Regions from separate parts of the Homo sapiens genome. Here region 1 is linked to region 2. Evidence: promoter capture Hi-C in 16 types of primary human blood cells and fetal thymus (Javierre and others, 2016). All regions are on one chromosome and are shown on one strand. Each heading gives the region's core, a stretch centred on a gene start or on the middle of the fragment in contact. The rest is flanking DNA. Distances are from core to core; before and after follow the strand shown.

Evidence for each region. Contacts are between HindIII fragments. The CHiCAGO score rates a contact against its expected background, and 5 or more counts as called.
Region 1: a fragment that was not itself captured here is called in contact with the fragment with the promoter of KCNK18 in region 2 in 3 of 17 cell types (endothelial precursors, M0 macrophages and M1 macrophages); the score reaches 10.1 in endothelial precursors.

Annotation. Positions count from the first base shown.
Region 1 is chr10:116,680,989-116,686,620 of GRCh38, reverse strand. HSPA12A (heat shock protein family A (Hsp70) member 12A) reads left to right here. Exons shown (of 12, transcript NM_025015.3): 7 at 2,659-2,830; 8 at 4,744-4,830; 9 at 5,365-5,469. Among named protein-coding and RNA genes, the nearest start is that of HSPA12A-AS1, 14 kb to the right of the region's middle. RefSeq lists enhancers at 3,298-3,797, 3,798-4,299. The HindIII fragment of the contact is 3,128 bases long and covers 236-3,363 here.
Region 2 is chr10:117,195,953-117,201,409 of GRCh38, reverse strand. KCNK18 (potassium two pore domain channel subfamily K member 18) reads right to left here and starts at 3,921. Exons shown (of 3, transcript NM_181840.1): 1 at 3,699-3,921; 2 at 123-251. The coding sequence starts at 3,921. It also overlaps the pseudogene RPL12P26. The HindIII fragment of the contact is 2,593 bases long and covers 3,054-5,457 here.

The DNA.
Region 1 (5,632 bases), core at 550-3,049, 510 kb after region 2:
GCCACAAGTCCCACCTGGCAGGCTGACATCCCAGTGGGACATGGTAACCGTAATGTAGCGTCTGGGTCTTTGCCTTTCTTCCTTCACACCAACTCCTTGGGCTCCACTCATGGGTCTACTGCCATCCCCAGTTTATTTTCAAGTTTGAACTTTGGAGGAGAATTGTATACATACAGGCCTGGCAGTTTCTTTGCAGCAAGTTGTCCCTTCTTCCTCACCCCGTTTTGTGGAAGCTTCCCCCTTGGACCTTCTATGCTCCTGGGAGGTCCTTGACTCCACAACCTCAAGGATGGAAGAATCAGCACAGGAGCTGTCCCTCGGAAGGGGCCCCTCTTGGTCTTATTTGGGATTTCTTCCTCCCGACCCCTTGGGATCCAGGCTCAGAGGTTTCACCTTTCCCGAGGGCACCATACGTGTGAGAGCCACATCCTCTTTCACTTTAACCTCCAGCCATGTTTGTGCTAAGGATGTCTAATGTGACCCTGTGAGAGTGAAGCTGGGGAGGGGGGACTTTTACTTGCTTGAATAGGGGGCAGTGGGAAATCCTGTCATGCACCTGAGTCAGGGCCCTGTTGACCGATGTCACCTAAGGGCAGACCCAGCTTCTCTGACCCATGGGCTGAGCTGACAGGCATTGATGCTGCCCGGGTGGTTGGCCGTAGCTGAGGGTACTAGGTGATGGGAAGAGGGTTCGCCACGGACAGTGCAGGACACGAGAGTGGTGGTTCTTATCTGGTTTTATAAAGTCAGCCTTCCAGATGTGGTTCTGCCATTTTGAGGCATTTGGTATTTACAGAGTGAAGATGTTCAGTCACCTGCCTGCTGGTAGTATCAGTTTTAGCACTGAAAGTCTCACATCCCAGGAAATCTCTCTATCCTGAGCAAACTGGGACAGTGGGCCACCCTCCCTCTCTTTCTACATAAAGTGAAGGAGTTGATAAATAGCTCTGAAGGTCCTTTGCATTCTTTTTTTTTTTTTTTTCTTGAGATGGAGTTTCACTCTTGTCACCCAGGCTGGGGTACAATGGCACCATCTCGGCTCACTGCAACCTCCACCTCCCAAGTTCAAGCATTTCTCCTGCCTCAGCCTCCCGAGTAGCTGGGATTACAGGCACTGCCCCCACCATGCCCAGCTATTTTTTTTTTTTAGTAGAGACGGGGTTTCACCATCTTGGCCAGGCTGGTCTCGAACTCCAGACCTCAGGTGATCTGCCCGCCTCAGCCTCCCAAAGTGCTGGGATTATAGGTGTGAGCCACCACGCCTGGCCACTTTGCATTCTTAATACCTGAAAATCCCCTTCCCTCCTTGCCCAGTAATTGGACCTCCCAAGCCCCTCTGCCCATGATGAGGCCGACTTCGCCTGATGAGAAGTTATTTGTGAGTGTGTGACATTAGGAGACCTTCTGAACCTGGTCTGCAAGAAGAATGCACTAAACCCCAGGGGTCTGATACAGAACTTGAGGCCTTCCTCCCAGTAGGCATGGTATGAAGGCAGCATCCCAAGGTTCCTAAGAAATGGCAAAAAGTCAGCACCACGGCAGTGGCAGGGATGAAGTGTTCTTCCGTGGTCCATCGGGCTGGCAACTGAGGACACCCGTGTACCTGAATGGTTTCCAGAAGCAAGTGGGGCCTCCCGCTGCAGCTCAAGGCCATGAGAGGTGCCAGGGACCTGGTTAGAGGCCCAGCCATGCTGTTTCTCTGAGCATCCTCAGAAGGGTTGTCCCAGGGCCTCTTGAGCTGGCCCTTCTGAAGGCCCACAGGAGTGGTGACTGGGACTGGTCAGATGTCACAGAGCAGAAGCACTTCTGCCTACTACAGGCCAAGGCCCCAAATGTTTGCAGATGGAAGCCACAGATGAGAACTTGGGGATCAGATTGTTAAAGGAATATTTATTACTATATGTGATATATGTCTATAATAAAACTATTAAAGGGTGGAGGCTTTGAATAAGATATCTTCTTGCTGACTCAACCGCACTCTAGAAAATGAGGGACTATATGGGATTCCAGGAGGGGCTTCCTCCTGGAGCCACTGCTTATCTGTCACCCCCAGTAGGCAAATCTCAGGAACCCTCCTAGCGCTCTGGAGATAACAGGTCGGTTACCCAGATAGCAAAGTCAAATGCTTGTGTTGCTGAGGCCCAGCCATGGTCTGTTTCCAAGGCCACCAAAGATAGGGGTTTGCTCCGATTTGGTCAGACCGTGTGGTATATTACAACTGAGAACAGATCACCTGCCTTCCACCCTGTGATGGTTTGGAAAGTTTCAGGGTCTCTGCAACTCCATGCCTTCACCACTGGAGCATGGAAGCCCGTGTGCCTCCTGCAGTCCGGAATCCCCCCGCTCCTCCCCATGGTGCTGCTCAGCTCTGAGCCAAGGAGGCCCCAAGTGCAAGAGGCCCCACAGCCAGAGCACCTGGTGTTTTCCCCAGGGTGCCTATACATTTTCTTTGGCCACCCTGGGGTGTTTGGGTATCTGGCTTGGGGCCCAGTACCGAGGCACCCTGACATTATGCTCTGCAGAGGACTGTGTAGAGAATGTCCCACAGATGCAGAGCACGAGTGCGCCCTCCTTAGGGATGTCAGTCCAGGCACGGGTGTCCTAGGAGCAGGCCGGCCCAGGGGGCCCTGGGTCCCAGCCTCTGTTTCTGTCTTCCAGGCAGGCCTGGCCTCCCCCGAGAACTCGGAGCAGCTCATCATTGCCTTGGAGCCTGAGGCAGCCTCTATCTACTGCCGAAAGCTGCGGCTACACCAGATGATTGAGCTGAGCAGCAAGGCAGCCGTCAATGGGTACAGCGGCAGTGACACAGTAGGAGCTGGGTTTACACAGGGTACCTCTGCTCTCTCTCTCCCCCTCCTGCTCTCCTTCCTTCCCAAGCCCTGGATGTCTCTCTCCCTCTGATGATTTTAAAGGCACTTAGTGCCATAATGAAGAATCAGGATACTCCGGGAGGAGGTGGGCTTTAAGCACCTCTCTGCTCAGCCCCCCTACCTGGCCCCTCCAAGGACCCCCATAAATGGAGGCATGGTTACCCTGGTTCATCACCCACCAAGTGTCTGGGGGCGGGGAGCTTCTCTCTAAGAATCTGAGGGTAGCCTGAGAGCGGTTATTGGCCTCACATTGTACTAGGCTCTTAATCTTTCTTGTGTATTAACAGATTCTTAATCTAATTCCATTGCCTGTTATTAATTCTCCATTAAGACTGTTGATTTATTGCTGAGTCACTCATTGGGTCTGCTTCATGTGCGATGAGTTTAAAATGCAGATGAAACCGGCTGACTTTTCCTGACCTAGGTGACGCTCGCTTAGCTGTGGGAAGGAGCACCGCCTTAGGGAGACTGAGGATGGCGATTTTAAAAAGCTTTTCCTCTTTAATAATTACCTGAATGCAAGTAGGTCATAGCCTTGGTCACAGAACTTGGTTCCCTGGTATCCAGGGCTCTGTGGGTGTGTCGAGGGCTATAGGGTTTGCAGACACGCCCTGTCAGGGTCAAGGCACCAATATGAGCGCTAAGTGAGAGCACTATGGGGGTGGCGCCGGGCACTGTTGTTAAATCTCAAAGGCACGAGGGCCTAAGGTCTAAGGGTTAATTTCAGGCTGCAAGAAAAGAATTGTGGGGCCGGGCGTGGTGGCTTACACCTGTAATCCCAGCACTTTGGGAGGCCGAGGCAGGCGGATCACGAGGTCAGGAAATCCAGACCACGGTGAAACCCCGTCTCTACTAAAAATACAAAAAAAAAAAAAAAAAAAAATTAGCCGGGCGAGGTGGCGGGTGCCTGTAGTCCCAGCTACTTGGGAGGCTGAGGCAGGAGAATGGCGTGAACCCGGGAGGCGGAGCTTGCAGTGAGCCGAGATCGCACCACTGCACTCCAGCCTGGGAGACAGAGCGAGACTCCGTCTCAAAGAAAAAAAAATTGTGGGAACTGCAAGCCCCTTAACCTTTCCTGACCTGATTTCCTTCTCCGAACATAGGGACAATGATTTGTGCCCTCTCATAGCCACATAGGCGTCTCCGCCACTCAGCACCTCAAGCCACAGCAGGAGCGGAGGTTGTCCCTGTGTTCATGGAAAAGGCAGCACAGGGGTTTGCCAGGCCCAGACGCGCCACCTTGTGGCCGCAATGCATATTGGCTTCAGCTGGGTCAGGAAATGGCCCCCCCCCCCAGTCTATTTACCCAGGGTGCATGTTAGGAAAACACACCCCAAATTCCTTGTATCAGACAAAATTCCTTGATTTGGAATTGTTTAACTGAGCGCACTGCAGGCTGTTTGGCAGATAGCTTCCTCCCTGGGGCAGCAAAGCCGGGAAACTAGGCGATTTCATTAACCCATTCTCCAAAAAATGTGACCAGGGTAGGTCTCATTTGAGAGTCTCGCTCTGTCACCCAAGTTGGAGTGCAGTGGCGCACATTTGACCACATTCTCTTCTTTCAGTTTTTTTCACGTGGAAAATGGGGATAATAATTCCACCTAATTCCAAGGGTTGTTGTGAGAATCTCATCAGGGTGGGCTTTTCAGCTGGGCACAGGCTAAGCCGAGGAATAGAGGAAGGCCGGTGGAAATCACTTTCTCTGGGAAGAGCTGGCTTTGTGATTCCCGACATCGTATTGACTTATTTTGGTCAAATGTCACTAATGTTCCATCCCTAAATCTCCTCATGCTATTGCCTTCACTGACTGCAAATGATCTCTGCTTTTTCATGCTTTCTTACCCGTCATCATTTTCTTTCTGTCGGCCACTAGCTAAGGAACACATACGGCGTAATCGGCAGAGTCGGACCTTTTTGGTGGAGAATGTCATAGGAGAAATCTGGTCCGAGCTGGAGGAAGGTAGCGTCCTTCAATGTCCTTTGCTCTTGCTGGATTTTCCTGTGCTGCTCGTGAAAAGCCATTCCCATTTGTCCCTTTTGCACTTTTGGAAAATGTTCAAACTCAGTGGGTTCTAAAGACCACTCATGCAGGGAGAGCTCTTTTGGGAGCTGTAATTTTGCATGTTGTAAAACCAGGTAGGGATTGGAATTGATCAGTTCCAGAGTAAGTCTTTGGTGAAACGCAGATGATTTTAGGGCACTCACTATTCACGTGGCAGGAAACTGCCCACTAAGTACGTGCCAGGTATGCAGCAATGTGTGAATCTTAGATTCACTCACCTGGGTTCTCCATCGTCCATGTCTAACCATCCTCCTGGGCAGATTGCATTCTCTTTGGTCATGGTTAACTCCTAGAGCTGCTAATTAGCAAAACCATTGTGCTAATGAGAAGTTTTGAGGGCACTTAGCTGGGTCTACCTAGTTACCACCCACAAGCTTGTTTCAGATGGGGTTGGCAAACAGTCTGTGTAAAAGATGGCTGTTTTTGTGCCAGGTGATAAGTATGTGGTTGTGGACAGTGGCGGTGGCACCGTAGACCTGACAGTCCATCAGATCCGGTTACCGGAGGGACACCTTAAGGAACTGTATAAAGCAACAGGTGAGGCCCTGCAGGGCTAATTTTCTTATTCCTGAGCCAATTCCAGGCAGTTCTGTTTTCACTTGTTTCAGATAACTCTCAGTTTTATTCTCTTGAATGCCACTAACATGTGGGATCGTAGGCGGTGGAGGATACTAATGTCTGCTTGAAATTGGAAAGCAAA
Region 2 (5,457 bases), core at 2,672-5,171:
AAGGGAGGGAAGAAGAGAGGGAGAGGAGGGCCATCTCCACACCCCAATTCCAGTGTCCTTTGCCACCCAGAAACCCACCCTTCACAGGGCCACCGTGAGGGGGACTGTGGCTTTGCACTTACCCACGGTGCTGAACACCGTGCAGCAGAAAAAGAGCGAGCTCAGGAAGGACCAGTGTGTGGTCCTGTTAAACCACTGAGGCTTCACCTTCTGCAGATGCCCCTGGAGATCCTGTTTTCTGTCTTCCACCACTGGAGAAAGACATGACCAAGAGTTTGAGGAAAAGGTTCTGCTGGTAAAGACAAGCCCCGCCCCAGTGAAAGGGATAGTCTTCCCCAAGGACCAGCAGCCCCTTTGCCTTGTGGTCAGTATCAACACCAAAGCTCGGTGGTCGGAGTCCTCCTTTAAAATATTTCTGCAGCCTGGGTCCTGCCTTCAGTCCCTATGGAGATAAGGAGGCCACTTAGCCCTGTGAGAAGAGCACCTAACAGAGAGGCCCATGGGGGTCCCACCAGAGCTTAGCCCTGGCATTGCTGTGTAGTCTTTGCCTTTTAATTTTCTGAACCGCCATTTCTTTCATCTGTTTTTTTTTTTTCTTGAGACAAGAGTCTTGCTCTGTTGCCAGGCTGGAGTGCAGTGGTGTGATCTCGGCTCGCTGCAACCTCCACCTCCCTGGTTCAAGCAATCCTCTTGCTTCAGCCTCCTGCGTAGCTGAGACTACAGGGGCGTACTACCACACCCATGCCCAGCTAATTTTTGTATATTTAGTTGAGACGGGGTTTCACCTCATTGGCCAGGATGGTCTCAATTTCTTGACCTTGTGATCCACCTGCCTCAGCCTCCCAAAGGGCTGGGATTATAGGCGTGAGCCACCGCGCCCCGCCTCTATCATCTTTCAAAGGAAGATAACTTCTGCTCTGCCTCTCACACAGGGTTCTCAAGTACTAAAAGCAAAAGGCTTTTAGGAAAAGCAAGCTGTTACACAGATGCAAATCATACCCACTCCTGGAGGTCATTACGCTTGATGGAGTTTGCCGGGCACGATGGCTCACGCCTATAATTGCAACACTTTGGAGGGCTAAGGTGGGCGGATCATTTGAGGTCAGGAGTTCAAGACCAGCCTGGCCAACATGGTGAAACCCTGTCTCTACTAAAAATACAAAAATTAGCCGGGTGTGGTGGCACACACCTGTGGTCCCAGCTACTCAGGAGGCTGAGGCAGGAGAATTGCTTGAACCTGGGGAGTGGAGGTTGCAGTGAGCCAAGATCGTGCCACTGCATCCCAGCCTGAGTGACAGAGTGAGTCTCCATCTAGAAAAATAAAAATAAAAACTTGATGGAGTTTGATCATCATACCATCATACTGTGATCTTTGGGCACCAGCTACCTGTGAGTGTCTCCTACAGAGCTGGGAAAACTTGACTTCCTACACATTGGTTCCAAGGCTAACAGAGCAGGGTTGGGAACCCTGGTTTCCCAGAGAGGTTCCTGAATGGCTCGATTGGCCTGAGCCGCCAGTGGGCTTTGGGACCCAGAGGCCACCTGCTAGACTTGTTCGGCTTTAAGAGAATGGCACTGAACCTGGCATGCAGCAGGAAGTCTCTACTCCTTTTAATTGGCACCAGCCTGGGAGTCTACACACATCGATTCTAGACCCAGCTCTAACCCTGATAAGTTCTGTAACTGTGGACAAGAGGCTGCTTTCTGAGCCTCAGTTTCCCCATCAGAGAGACAGCCTGAGATGGTGGTGAAAGGTTCAGGCTCTGGAATCCAGATACATGGGTTTAAGTCCCTGGTTCCATTTTTCTAGTTTGTGAACTTGGACAAATTGCTTAACCTCCCAAGGCCTCAATTTCCTAATCTGTAAAAGAAGGACAACTTTTTGTTGTTTTCTTGTGAGGCTTCTTGTGAGGATTAGGTGAGATAATGTGTGAAGTGTTTGCCACAGGGTCTACATGCAACTAACCCTTATGGAACATTTTAATCTCCAGTGAAAATCGGTACAAAATGGAGTGGGACCAGCTCTGTGTTCCCATACCCTGCTGTGCATTGGAATCACCTGATAAACTTTATTTTTACTTATTTATTTTTGAGACATCTCTGGCTCTGTCATCCAGGCTGGAGTGCAATGGCACAATCACGGCTCACTGTAGCCTCAAACTCGTAGGCTCAAGCAATCCTCCTGCCTCAGCCTCCCAAGTAGCTGGGACTACAAGTGCACGCCACCTCATCTGACTAAATTTTTTAATTTTTTATAGAGACAGGGTCTCACCTTGTTGCCCAGGCCTAGTCTCAAACTCCTGGCCTCAAATGATTCTCCCACCTTGGCCTCCCAAAATGCTAGGATTATGGGCATGAGCCACCATGCTTGGCCTTATCCTTGAAACTTTAAGATTCCCAGCCCAGCCCTGGAGATCCTGATTAAGTGGGTTTGGAGAAGAGCCTGGGGATGTGTACTCTAGGCAGTCTCCCTGGTTGATTCTGATGTGTTGCTGGCTTAGAGAGCCTTGAACTTGCTGGTAGTCTAGGCCCTGCGATGGTGCAGTGTCCCTTTGGCAGCAATCTCCCAGGTCCACTGAGCAGGCTGGCGTCTGTCTGGCAAGGATGCAGGGAGTGGGACCCTCCACAGACAGGAGACTCTGCCTCCCTGGACTGGCCTCTTGTCTCTGGGAGCTGCACCTGTTCCCAAATCAAGGTCTGGGCTGTGGAAGGAGCCCCCACACCAGAGTGGGAGGGGAGGGGCTCCCTGCACCCCATTCTTCTCCTGACTTTTAGTGTCTGGTTTTCCTTTGTTTTTCATTTATCTACTCTCCCTTGTTTTATCTTGCTCTGTTGAATACAATAACAAGCTTCCTTCGAGGAACACAGCAGAGTAGAAACAAGTGACTAAATATGAAGAAAATGCAATGAGGACACTATAAAGTGACTTCTGTCTTCCAAGAGCCAGAATGTTCCTTGTCTCCTCTGCTTCTCACAGGGTCCCTGTGACCACCAAGTCTGAGATTGGGGGTCCCCTTCTCTCCCGCAGACTGAGACCCAGAGAGAACAAAGCTTTGCCTCCACGGATTGCAGAGCAAGCTGGGAGAGCAGCCAGGACAACAGCCAGGACCCCCACCCCTCCCCCCAGGTCTTCTCACAACACCTCCCCACTCCGCTGAGCCAGACAGCAGAAAAGGAGTTTGAAACAGGAAGTGGGGGCGTGGGTGGCAGGTGCTCCTGCTGGAATTTAAATCCAATTTGGGTTGTTCCCTAAATTCTCATCCCTGCAAACTGAATCCTGGGTCAGGCAGACATAGTTCTGAAAAGCAAGCTAGCCCCCCAACCCCAGCCCCAGATTTGCTCACCCATGCACCCCACCCCACCAAATTCCCAGTAATCCATCGTCCCCTGAGGCCACTGGTCTGGATGGGGCTGGGTGCTGAGGCACAGGAAGGGGAGCTGGTCTTTCCTGAGCACCTCAGGGTGCTCAGGGCCTTTCCTGCATTCTTCACAGCAACCCTGAGAGGCAGTTAGTCTCCCCACTTTTCAGAGGAGAAAACAGAGGTTCAGAAAGAAGTTACTCGCTTAAAGTGCCCAGGCATGAGGAGGATCCAGGCAGGCAGCTCCCAGACCCAGCCTCCTAGAAGGCAGCCCTCTGCTCTTGGGGGACTGCTGCCACCACGGAGAAAAGGCCCACCCTGTCCAGGTGAGGCACCTACCTGTTTCACTGCAGTTCAAGATTCTGCAGAGCTCCTCCAAGAACTTCTCAAACTCTCCATCATCTGCTGCCACCAGGACCTGGCCGTCCTCAATGGCAGAGAAGACCACAGCACCCACCAGGGCGTAGGTCACCAGAAAGCAGAGGAAGCAGAGGCCAGGGAAGAGCTTTCCCAGGGCCTCTGGGCAGCATCTCCTGGCCTGGGGGTGCCCCGAGACCTCCATCGTCCCTGAAGCATGCAGGGCAAGAGGAGCTGGTGGAAGAGGCAGGAGCATCTAAGCCCCGCCAGGAAGATGGGGTAGGAGTGCCCGGAGAACAGCCAGGCTCCAGTGCTAAGTGGATGGTGCGTGTGCTTCCCCAAGGACTCAGGAAGCAGCCGGCAACTCATCATGTTCAGTTCTTCCGAACTACTCAGATGGCGCCCTCCCTAGCACCCCAGATTGCTATTGATCCGCTGGGCCGGCCCTGGAGCTGCCTGGAAGGGGCTTTGGGAGGATAGTGTGGTTGTTGTTTTGTGCTACGTTTAATCTTTTCTATGCCCAAACTGCAGTTTTGAATTGCAGATCCCAAACCTGATCTTTGGCGTTTAGTCAAGTGATTCTTTCCTGAGAGCTGTCTGTGACACAACTTGGCTTAGGGTACCTGGTCTTCTGGACAGGTGATAATAGTAGTAACCTATAATAGTAACAGTAACCATAGTAACTAATGCGGCCAGAGCTCAATGGTTTCCAAAGGACCTTTATCCTGTGTGGATCTAATTATTGGTCCCAATTCTTCACTCCCCTGCTGCATACCCCCCCTTGCTGGGGCCTCACGGTGGGCAGAGTGTACTTCCTTGAACTTGGCTTTAGGGTAGGTCATCTCACTTGCTCCAGACAGCTGGGCATTAGCAGATGTGATGCAAGCAGGGGCTAGGCCTGTGCTTGTGCATTTGGACTTGCTTAGCTATGCCTGTGTCTGCCATGAGAAAAGGTGCCCCACCTTTCAATTTTCAGCTCAGAGTAGACCAATGTGCAACTTTCTTTGGTGGTCCTGAATCCAGGTTCATCCAACACCACCTACCTCCACCATACAGCCTAAGTTTGACCCCAACGAGATTAAAGTCTGAGATGCACCGGGAATGATGTTGGTGCCACATCTGTGCTGGCCCCTAAGATCAAACCCCTGTGTCTGTCTCCAAAACACATTGGTAATGACATCGTTAGGGCAACCGGTGATTTGAAGGATCTGAGGATTACAGTGAAACCATTCAGAACAGGCAGGCATAGATTGAGGTAGTACCTTCTGCCTCTGCCCTGATCATCAAAGCCCTCAAGGAACCTCCAGGAGACAGAAAGAAACAGAAAAACATTAAACCCAATGAAAATATCATTTGATGAGAATGTCAACATTGCCTGACAGATGCAGCTCCAATCTTTAGTTAGGGAACTCTCTGGAACAATTAAAAAGATCCCGGGGACTGCACCATCTGTGGGCTGCAATGTTGATGGTCACCACCCTCATGACATCAACAGTGGTGCAGTGGAATGCTCAGCTTGTTAAGCACAAAGGAAAATATTTCAATAAAGGATCATTTGACAACCAGTGGGGATAAAAAGTGCCTCAGATGGCAGCTGTGGAGATGCATGCAGGTTCAGATCCCTCTTCTAGAAAGGACTCGCTGTGCAGCTTTGATGAGCATGGTTCATGACAGCCCCTTTTGTTCTCTGAGGGTTTGCCACCGGTTTCAAGCCCTCTTCTTGGAGAAGCCTGTGCCCACT